3 separate regions of the Homo sapiens genome follow, and regions 1 and 3 are each linked to region 2. Evidence: promoter capture Hi-C in 16 types of primary human blood cells and fetal thymus (Javierre and others, 2016). All regions are on one chromosome and are shown on one strand. Each heading gives the region's core, a stretch centred on a gene start or on the middle of the fragment in contact. The rest is flanking DNA. Distances are from core to core; before and after follow the strand shown.

Region 1 (3,722 bases), core at 550-3,049, 170 kb before region 2:
GTCAGCGAGACCAAGAACCCACTGGGAGGAATGGAGAACTCTGGACACACCACCTTTAAGAGCTGTAATACTCACTGCAAAGGTCTGCGTCTTCACTCCTAAAGTCAGCAAGACCACCAACCTACCAGAAGGAAGAAACTCCAGACACATCTGAACATCTGAAGAAACAAACTCCGAACACACCATCTTTAAGAACTGTAACACTAATTGTGAGGTTCCGTGGCTTCATTCTTGAAGTCAGTAAGACCAAGAACCCACTGGAAGGAACCAATTCTGGACACACCAGCATGGTGTATGGAAGGATATGCAAACACAGCAGTGAACCAAATAGACAGGGTCCCTTCCTCAGGAGACAGAGAATACACCATCATCAACCAGGTTGCTCAGAAGAATTTTCTGTGGACGAAAGCAATTGTTCTTCAACACTCTTAGTCTCATTTAAAGCTAAATTGCCTCCAATTCTTTCTGGAAGCAAAGCAATAAACACAGAGAGTGACCATTGTGGGAAAATGCTCATAGTATACTGTTAAACTGGAAAAAAAAAAAGTACGGCACCAAATTATAGGTGGTATGATCTCAGATGTGTTAAAAATTCACTGTTCAGGGCCCATATTCAAACTGGGACACACTGGCAGATCTATGCTTATTGCTAAAATACTGGAATATTCCTGGGTCACTTGAAGATGCTGCTGTCTTGAACCATCTTAGGATTTGCCGCCCCACCCATCTCTACCTTTCTTCTGGTTTCCACCTGGCTTCCCAGGCATCCAGCGACTGAAGGATTAACATGGGGCCCAGCGGGGGCCTGCAGGGTTCAGCTCCACACACAGCTGAGGTCTGTTCTCATTGTTTTGCTGCCTGTGCCATATTTGAGTTCATTCCCTAAGAACTCTACTATCTTGGATTCTTCAGTCAGCCACAAAGTTGCATTTTTATTACTCAAAAACATTGCCAAGGCATAAAACTAAGATAAATCATTATTTTTCTTGCAAATAATTGGGGCTCTTTGGTTTTTCATTCCCTCTGCTTTCCCATCCTCTTCCAGTCATTCACTTAGTTCAAATACTCATGATGTTTAGAAATATTTCATGTTTGTGAGTGCAAGCATACTAATTATTCTATCCTGTCAAATAATCTCATTGTAGAACGTAAAAAGCATTTTAAAAATTTTTTTCCATTAAAGACAAGGGTATTTGGCAATTATTATTCAAGAAAAAAGTCACCTTAGCTTCTAATATCAATAGAACTGTATTTTCAATCGAAAAAGCTTCCTGTTAATGAATGATAGTCAATTTTCTACACCAACTTTTAAATTTTTTTGGTTTTATAGAAATACCATAAAGGAAAATGTACCTGAATGATCTGTGCTTCATCTTTGAAATTCATGAACTCCTAGGAAACCCAGATCCACAGCTGCCCTAAATGTTTACCCTGTGCTGGGAGAAGGGAAGATTCGCAGGTAACTTCAGACTCCAGGGCGCCAGCATTTTCTTTCTGAAGTGCGGCCCTTTCATCTGACTTGTTTGCTGGGACTTTTCAGAGAGGTTCGCGTCCTGATTCCTGTCCAAGTGTTGTCAGGCTGTTAGGAAGAAATCTCTGAAAAGGCCTCCGCCTGCTGAGCCGAAGTGTGGGCTTCACAAAAGTCAATACTTTCAACTTTTCCTTTGCCCTGGGTGTGTTTAAAGGGGCTTTCCAGTACAGATCCCTTTTATTGCAGGTGAGGGTTGGTAGAGAAATAATAGCTTTCATCTTTTGTCCTTCTGCGAAGAATAAAAATGAAGAAACAGGGATGCCCTCTTTTAGGCTTTACGAGATCCTTTTTTTAGATGGATTTATCTGATTAAAAATCTTGAATAGAAATGCTATGACAAAAAAATAGTAGACCATATTAGTGCAAACATCAGGTCTCCTTGAGCTCATTAATTTTAATTCACTTTGTTCTTAATAATGAGAGTTTTAGCCCCTAGGCTTTCGTGATGGGTAGTCCTGGTCCTATGAAGAGGGAGTGAGTCAAGTGATAAGAGGTTCATTACCATCTGGAGCCTAAGACGGCTCCTGGTGCATAGAAGATGCTCGATAAATATCTATGGAAGGAATAGCAAATGAGAAATGAACAGATCAGGCCTGATGGCAAGAGGCCCGAGTTCTAGAACGGAAACTAATTTAAGTGGCTCTCTTTCTGAGTTGCTAGCCTGATTTCTTGAATCTGTGAAACAAATAGATTGGATTTGATGATAGCACCCTTTAAATTTAGTATTTTCTTGTGTCAGGGACAGGTCTTTTTCAATATGCTATTGCTTAGTCAAGTCTTAAAGATTTCATTTTTTTAACAAAGCTTTTTGCAACCGCTCTAAAACTGCCTTAAAACAGCACTAAATCAAAGAATCTTTACACTTGAGGCTATATTCTGGACAGAGTAAATAGCTTTCCAAAGTTTATATATGGAATACCTTTCTTTTAATATAGTATTTGATAACAGTATTTTCCTAGACATCAGAATTTCTATACTAAATTCTTCCTACCATTAACAGAGATGATTTTTAAATGGGATAGCAAACTGCCTTTCTATTGATAGGGTGAGATGTTGCTATGATTTCAATGTTTGTGCCTGCCCCCAAACTCATACATTGAAATCCTAACTCTCAAACTGATGGCACTAGGAGGTGGGACTTTAGGAAGGTGATTAGGTTATGAACCCTCATGAGTGGGATTAGTGCCCTTATAAAGGAGGCCCCAGGGAGCTACAAAGCTCCTTCCACCACATGAAGATACATCAAGGAGATGCATCTCTGAAGTCAAGAGCGACCTTTACCAGACACCAAATCAGCCAGCACATTGATCTTGGACGTCCAGCCTCCAGACTGTGAGCAATATATTTCTGTTGTCTATAAGCCACACTTTTTTTTTTTTTTTTTTTTTGAGACAGAGTCTCGCTTTGTCACCAGACTGCAGTGAAGGTGGCGCGATCTCAGCTCACTGCAACCTCCACCTCCCAGGTTCAGGCGATTCTTCTGCTTCAGACTCCCAAGTAGCCGGGACTACAGGCATGCGCCACCACGCCCAGCTCATTTTTCTATTTTTAGTAGAGATGGGGTTTCACCATTTTGGCCAGAATGGTCTCAATGTCTTGACCTGGTGATCTGCCTGCCTTGGTCTCCCAAAGTGCTGGGATTACAAGTATGAGCCACCATGCCTGGCCAAGCCACCCATTTTAGATTTTGTTATAGTAGCCCTGATCCGACTAAGCCAGCTATATTCAATGGTTAAGTTTGATTTCTGGGTTGCATATTCTTGGACTCCTTATTTTCTGTTGCCATGTGCATAAGCAAACATAGTCTAGTTGGTTACAACGGTGCTGGACACGTGAGGCTGTGACTCAACAGTCACCAGTATTTGCCTTCCACTCTGAGAGGTGAGGACCATTAGGGCTAATAATGTGGCCCAGTCAGCTATTTTCCTGCCATAATTGTATTTCCTTCTTATTTTAAAAGAATTTCAGACTTATAGCAAAAGCACAAGAATAGTACAAAATGTACAAAACAGTACAAAAATGAATTCCCATAAGCCATTCACCCAGATCCAAATGTCACCATTGCTTCTTCATTATCATATTGCATATATGAATGTATGTCCGTGTGCATATATTTTTCCTTAAAATATTTGGGAGGAAGTTATAAGCATGATGTCACCTACCCCTAAATACCTCAGTGTGTATTATCCTA
Region 2 (3,770 bases), core at 17-2,516:
GCTGGAACTGACGGGGGCTGCAGTGCTGAATACCTCTGGGACGCTTGGGAACTGTGCCCCTGTTTACAGACGGCAAGCCCTTAGTGGTAGGGCCCTGAGATTCTGAGAAACATAAGGTCTGCTTTATTTAATTTCCTCTCGTTTACCAAGAGTCACAACCTATTTTAGTAAATAAATTCAGGAAATTGGTAAAGCACTTTACTCCATCCGTTATGCCTCGGTCATCAGCATGGTTGTCACGGTCTCTCTGGCTCACGGGCTGCTGCGGCTCACAGCCTTCCCTCACTTGCCTGCAACCAGCTGAGAGCCTCCCTGGTGATGGGTGTTACTGAGCTTAAACGATGTAAACAAACAGAACGGCACACAAGTTGTGCAGGGAAGTATATTTCCTCTACCTTGTTAATAAAGATTTCTAACTTTAGAGATTTTCTGTATTGACTCTGGCATTCTTTCCAAATAATTATTTTCACCCCGGGGACTACCCACACACCCTGGGATAGAATAAAAGAAATTATCTTTCATTTGAGGGTACCAGCAACCCGCTCTCCAGCTCTAATCCTCTTCATCCTCCTTCTTTTTTTTTTTTTTTTTTTGGTTGTTAAAACCTGAGCTGCTGCCAAGCTGATCTTAATAGCATGTTCACAAAGACAGATGGATTTTTTTCCTACCTTCATTAGCCACTGAGTGTTGTTTTCCATGATGTTCTCCAGCACTTGCAGCCTCTGCACCGAGTCATCGTATTCGAGCGGCGCGTCCCTCTGCACAGCATTGGACACGTAGGGGCTGGAGGAAGAGCGGCAGTTGTCCATCTCTGGCAGGAGGAAAGTGTAGCTGCAGGACCCATGCTGGACCTGATATTGCTTCTTTCCTATGCTGTCCATGCTCTTCCGAAAGTTGTTATAGGCTGCGGCCAAGACAAGATCACAGCTCAGAGTAAAGAAAACAATCTGCCACATTCTTTCTTCAGTAATAAACCAGCAGCTTAGCAAACTTGAGGGCAAACACACGTCCAGAGTCCCGAGCTGCTGCCGTCTAAAACGCAGGGCTGCTACGCTGCCATGGCTGGGTCCGTCAATGAAAGTCTTCTCTTTCCTCTTTTTCCAGTAGCAAACCTGGTTTTTACTGCTGTGTTCTCTCCAGGCATGCAGTAAACTGTCAGATTGCAGTGGGAAGAACAGTCCTGCTCACTTGGGAGGGCTGTGTCAGCTTTTACAGAGCAGCTTTCACGGTCCTTTGTTCCTCTCTCCCCAGATCCTACAGTGTCAGTATCCGAATCAATCACTTTCCTTTCCTTATATGATAAGTTGATAAGAGCAGCCAGACATGTGTAGTGGGCTGCTCCGCCCTCCTGGCTTAGCCGTTATCTTCCTGTAGGGGGTCACTAGCCAGGCAACAGGAAAAATCAGAGCAGAATGCCTGCCCTCCAACCAGGACCCATGCTGCAGAAACCCTCTGGGAAAAACCGATCTGTTACAGGACCCCTGGGCATTTCCTAGGCACCACCCCAATTAAGTATTTCCTAGAGAGAGCAGTTGATCTCTTTTGTCTGAAACTGATTTTTGCCGTGCTAAGCTGGCAAAATATCTGAGGTAATAACTTTAATGTTGAAGTACAATGAAAGTTCCTGTTTTTTCCTTTAGGAATAAAAATATTACAAATAGGTCAGGACTTCGGTTTATTTTTGTTATTACAAATAAAGAGGAAGAAGTTTGGCTCCTGTAAACGTGTGCCTTTTCAGAGGGAAAAATAGATTCATTGATTTTAGTTGATTCTTGAACCACTAGCCAAGTTACAAAAGATTTTCATTTCCGAACAGTTGGATAGAAAGATCTGTTATTAAGTCACGTTAGAAACATCAGTTTCTGAGCTCTGACCTTTATTCTTTAAAAAAACTCCACTTGGATATTCACTCTAAAAATACACTGTACTGATTAAGTTCATTACATTACAATAGAGAAATTAGAATTTAAGTGCCTGTGTAGAAAGAGGAATACAAACTTTTTTTTTTTTTTTTTTTTTTTGAGACGGAGTCTCGCTCTGTCGACCAGGCTAGAGTGCAGTGGGGCAATGTTGGCTCACTGCAACCTCCGCCTTCCGGGTTCAAGTGATTCTCTTGCCTCAGGCTCCTGAGCAGCTGGGATTACAGGCAAACGCCACCACACCCGGCTAATTTTTGTATTTTTAGTAGAGACAGGGTTTCACCATGTTAGGCTGGTCTCAAACTCATGACCTTGTGATCGACTCGCCTTTGGCCTCCCAAAGTGCTGAGATTACAGGTGTGAGTCACCATGCCTGGCCCACAAACTTCTTTATTGTGTCAGAATTTGTTGACATCTCAGCATTTTGTAACACATTATCAATTACATTAGTCCCCCTTGGTATTAGACTCGGGCAAGTCACTTCCCTGTTTTAATTAAGCTCTAATGTCCTCATCTGTGCAATTCAAGGGGTGCACTCACAAGATTTTTCACCTTCAATCCTATGGCTCTGTAAGTTCTGCAAGTCACTTCCTTTAACAACTAAAACTTAATACTTCAGAGATTAATAATATGTTAACTCAGCAGCCCAAGTGTACATAGGGAAAAAGCCCCCTGCCTTTGCTGCGGTTTATCTCTCAAGGTACAAGGTTTATTATTCCCAGTGAGCGCTGAATAGCTGGTACACTGACTTAACAGACCACATCTACCCATAAAAGATCTTTATTTTTTACTAAGCTCTAACCGAAAGACAGCCTTTCCCTTATCAATGAATAGTTAACGAACAACAGTGTGAATATCTGTGACTTTCTCATCCTCAGAAATCAGCTCTTTTTATTTGCTGCCACAATACTCAGAACTACATTTTTATTAAACCCAGCCCTAGATCTTGCTACTGAACATTGGAATAAAGTAGCATGTGTCTTCTTTTGAGAAGGTGTTTATAGGCTTCACCAGACAACCAAAGGGTTCTGTCACACAGAAAAGCTGGAAGACATGCTCTGGAAGGATCTCATTAGTAGAAGAGGTAGTATGATTCCACCAAGGTTCTGGACATGGTTTCCACTAAGGGAACCAATTAAAGATGCTATACCCATCCGGACAGTGCACCGTCGAAGAAAGCATATAGGTCTTAAAGATGAGACCTGTGTTAGAACCCTGCTTCTGTGTGACCTCCAGCAAATGCTTCCATTCTTGGAGCCTCAGTCTCCCTAGTCATAAGATGGAGATCATTTTTTCTCTGTAGGGTTTTTAGGATTAAGATATAATTGTATGTTTAGAAATATTTGTTCCTTTTCTTTACAGGCATGCTCCATTAAATGGGGATCAGTTCTTCCACCATCAAATAGTATAACTCTGCTATTCTCTGAATGCAAAGCAGTGGCAGTGGCATAGGGTACAATTTTTTTATTTCCTGTTTGAAAAAGCATATTGTAAGGTATTAATATCACATATGTGGTTTTACCTTTTTTCAAGATTATTTTTTGTAGAGACGGGGTCTCACTCTTGTTGCCCAGGCTGGTCTTGAACTCCTGGCATCCAATGATCCTCTTGCTTGGCCTCCCAAAGTGCTGGGATCACAGGTGTGAGCCACTGTACCTGGCCTGCATATATGGTTTTAAAAGTCATTCAGTTGTCTTCCAGGCAAATAGAGTAGTTTAAAAGGAACAAATAGAAAGAGGGCACACCACAGTACTTTTTGTCTACCAGCCTTGTGTCAGACACCATGCTATGCACTGGGGATAGAGATTAAGGCAACTGGGTGTCTGACCTAAAGAAGCTAATAGTGTATGG
Region 3 (3,518 bases), core at 682-3,181, 140 kb after region 2:
ATAATGTGACTATTCTTCTTTCATATTACACTAAAACTCAGGAACTGGTAATTGCTTAAAGGTTAGTAGCCATGTAAAGTCTGAAATTATATCAATGAAATTTTTGTAGTTAAATTAAAACCTATTGGTATATCTTGTGCTTGCAAGAGCCATTTACCCATTCATCATTTTAAAATATCATGCATTATTTAAAAAACATTGGTTTGGTTTACTGCATTGTGCCAACCTTCCAAATTCTGACACATTGCATCATACAGTATTGAAAAATCACAATGGTTGCTATTACCACAGTCCTCATGAAAAAGGTCTTCAAGAACTGAGAAGGTGTCAAGCTCATAGAGCAATATAAGTTTTCCAAGATTCAAGTTTTCACTTGAAAGCTTCAATTTTATTGTTGGCAACATTACCCACTGTTTTCTTTTGAAGTGAATTTGTTTTTGAAAAAAGTGTCTGCCAGACTCACCACTTTATCTGCTAGTTATTCTTTCAAGCAAAAGTGATGTTCCACGAAAAAAGTAGCTCTCAGCTTGCAGCTCAGAGGTTGTTTCCTACAGGGGAGCTATTGAGCTTTGGTATGCTTCCCATGTGCTTCATGCAAGTTCCATTTAGTCACATGGAGTATTCATAAGATGTGTACTCCACAGTTGACATTTAATAAAATTGACTTTTTTTTTTTTTTTTTTTTTTTGCTATCACATTCAGGCTATTCTTAAGCGTTTTTCTGCCATGATCACATTGTGATGAAGAACATGATGGTCACTAGTAGGTAACTTTCTGTGTCATTGCCTTACTCTCAGTGAGGTGCTAGTGGATTTACCTACCCCTGCTTTTGCATCACCACTGTAAATCTAATAGTGAAAAGGCAAATGATGTCTCAGTATCACTGTGAAAACATTTTTCCCTTGGACCAGCTGAAAGCATCTTGAGGAGCCTGAAGGCTTCAAGGTCCACACGTCAAAAAAACACAGCCCTAGACTGATGGTGGCCCATTATGGGTGGGGTCAGCTTCCCCCTAGATCACATGGGTTCTGTTGGGAGGGGTGGCTTGTCTGCATGACCATCTTAGTCACCTCAAGGAGGGAAGGGGCAAAGGATTGCCAAGCATCTACTGCGTAAGTAGATAGCTGTAACCTCTGGGTAAGAAAGTGGGATTGGGTGCGGCATGAGGGAAATGTCCACATTTCATTCAATATTCAAAACATAGGATTGCTTACACTTTTTATAACAGGAATGCCTTCTTGTTTTATCTGTGCAAACAGCAAAATAAAAGCATGAATGGGAACTGACCAAAGTTTTATTTAGTTTTTACAGAAATAGGATCATAGTGCATGTATTATCCAGCAACTTGCTTTGTCACCTAGTGTCCTGGAGATCTGTCCACGACTACGCATTTAGTGCTACTTATTCCTGTCCAACTGCTGCATACCATTTCACTTATCAGTACTGTGTATCCACAAAGCTATTCTGCTACTGATGTGCACTTAGGTAGATGGACTGATTAAAAGGGTATCTGTCTGTATTAGGCTGTTCTTGCATTGCTATAAAGAAATACCTGAGACTGGGTAATTTATAAAGAAAAGTGGTTTAATTGGCTCACATTTTGGCTGGCTGTACAGGAAGCATAGTGCTGGCATCTGCTCAGCTTCTGGGGAGGCCTCAGGAAACTTACAATCATGGTGAAAGGAAAAGGGAGAGCAGGAGCAAGAGTGAGTGGGGAGGTGCTACGTGGTTTTCAACCACCAGATCTCGCGAGAATCACTCACTATCCTGAGGACAGTGCCAAGAGGGACGGTGATACCTATTCATGAGAAAACTGCCCCTGTGATCCAATCGCCTGGCACCAGGCCCCACCTCCAACATTGGGGGTTAAGACTGATAATGAGATTTGGGTGGGGACACAGATCCAAACCATATGGCTGTCCATTCTTAGAACATACTGTCAAATTTCCTTCCAAGAACACTGTACATGAGGGATTCGTTTTTCTCTCCATACATGGTCACCACCAAAGGCTAAGCTACCATCATCCTTTCTAGCTGGGAGTCTAGCTATAGTCTCCAAACTGTTTAAAATATACTCTCCACAATGCCTGAACAACTTTTAAAAAGATCAAATATAAGCATGTCACTCCTCTCCTTAAAATCTCAGTAGCTTCCCTGTCCTTTGGGATAAATTCTAAAATCCTTATGTGTCCCCCAAGACCCTGCTGTCATCTGGTTCTTGCCTATCTTTCCAGACTCAATCCCTAGCATCCTTGTCTCCTTTCCTTACCCCAATTATTTCTGTAAAAACAATCTTCAAATGGAGGCATGCGTATCCCTGAGAATATGGACACGTGGTCATGAGGAGTTTCAAGGGATTCAGTTTTCAGATCCCAACTCTTCTAAAAGTGATCTGTCTGAGGACTCCTGCAGTCCAGGCCCACCTGGCATTTCATAATGGCTCCTCTCCCCCCTGGCACATCCTAAATCTTACTACATTGTGCTGCCCTGCTGAGGTAGAAAGGTGTAATAAACCTTAGGACACCAACAGAGATAACTTATTTAAGAGATGCATTTCTTGTAACTTTTTTTTTTTTTTGCCTACAATTCCTTATCAGATTTTGTGAAACACATTGATTAAACTGTGTATTGCTAATAATAGTAACAGTTCAATCCAGAAGAAAATTTGCTTCTTAGGACCCTAATGATACAGTCTGATCAGTAAAAAACTTTGAAGGATAGAGCATATTCAATTATGATAGAATCCTGTGGTAGAAGTGAAATAAAAATATTTTCAGGGAGAAAAATAATCAATGCAAAATTTTCAACTGGTCAAAGGCTTAAGTATTTTTGAAATGAATGATGGGGTGGATATTAAGTCACTATAATATTTATAACTCACTGCATACATTTAAAAATTTTCTGTAATCACTTTATTTTCAAAACATCATTCATAACTCATCAGAACTTCATAACTACTTAAATTTATAATTAAAAGCCTTTTTAAATTTATCATTAAAAGCCCCCCTCTCCCCACCTTTTTTTTTCTTTGAGATGGACTCTTTCTCTTTTGCCCAGGCTGGATTGCAGTGACGCGATCATGGCTCATAGCAGCTTTGAACTCCTGGGCTCAAGCAATCCTCCCAACTCAGCCTCCTGAGTAGCTGGGGCTACAGGCATGCACAATCACACCCAGCTAATTAAAAAAATATATTTGTAGAGATGGAGGCCTCACTCTACAAAGCGCTTAAGTGATCCTTCCTCCTTGGCCTCCTGAAGTGCTGGAATTACAGGTATAGGCCACCATGCCCAGCTGAGAAAAACATTTAAATATCAGTTTAAGAATGTGTGATGGGAATACACAGCATTCTTTCAAGGGGCATCTCAACAAATTTTAAAAAGAACACTGTGGCCCACTCCAGTGCTATGCATGAGAATATGGTGATTTCTCAGCTTCAGGCGTTCAAATGTGCCATTCTCCCATGGAAAGCCCACTAAGTCCCTCAAGCTTCACCTGAAATACCATTTCACTGAGAAGT

What was found. Contacts are between HindIII fragments. The CHiCAGO score rates a contact against its expected background, and 5 or more counts as called.
Region 1: a contact is called between a fragment that was not itself captured here and the fragment with the promoter of ANGPT2 in region 2, in 12 of 17 cell types (activated CD4 T cells, fetal thymus, non-activated CD4 T cells and 9 more). The highest score is 12.4, in activated CD4 T cells.
Region 3: a fragment that was not itself captured here is called in contact with the fragment with the promoter of ANGPT2 in region 2 in 9 of 17 cell types (naive B cells, total B cells, erythroblasts and 6 more); the score reaches 23.6 in naive B cells.

Annotation. Positions count from the first base shown.
Region 1 is chr8:6,390,295-6,394,016 of GRCh38, forward strand. No RefSeq gene overlaps it. Among named protein-coding and RNA genes, the nearest start is that of MCPH1-DT, 14 kb to the right of the region's middle. RefSeq lists an enhancer at 1-942. The HindIII fragment of the contact is 1,068 bases long and covers 1,266-2,333 here.
Region 2 is chr8:6,561,979-6,565,748 of GRCh38, forward strand. ANGPT2 (angiopoietin 2) reads right to left here and starts at 1,267. Exons shown (of 9, transcript NM_001118887.2): 1 at 669-1,267. The coding sequence starts at 956. The region is part of intron 12 of MCPH1 (microcephalin 1); the gene reads left to right. RefSeq lists enhancers at 84-609, 610-1,136. The HindIII fragment of the contact is 4,979 bases long and covers 1-3,770 here.
Region 3 is chr8:6,702,782-6,706,299 of GRCh38, forward strand. All of the region lies in intron 1 of MCPH1-AS1 (MCPH1 antisense RNA 1), which reads right to left. Among named protein-coding and RNA genes, the nearest start is that of MCPH1-AS1, 3.7 kb to the right of the region's middle. The HindIII fragment of the contact is 3,107 bases long and covers 379-3,485 here.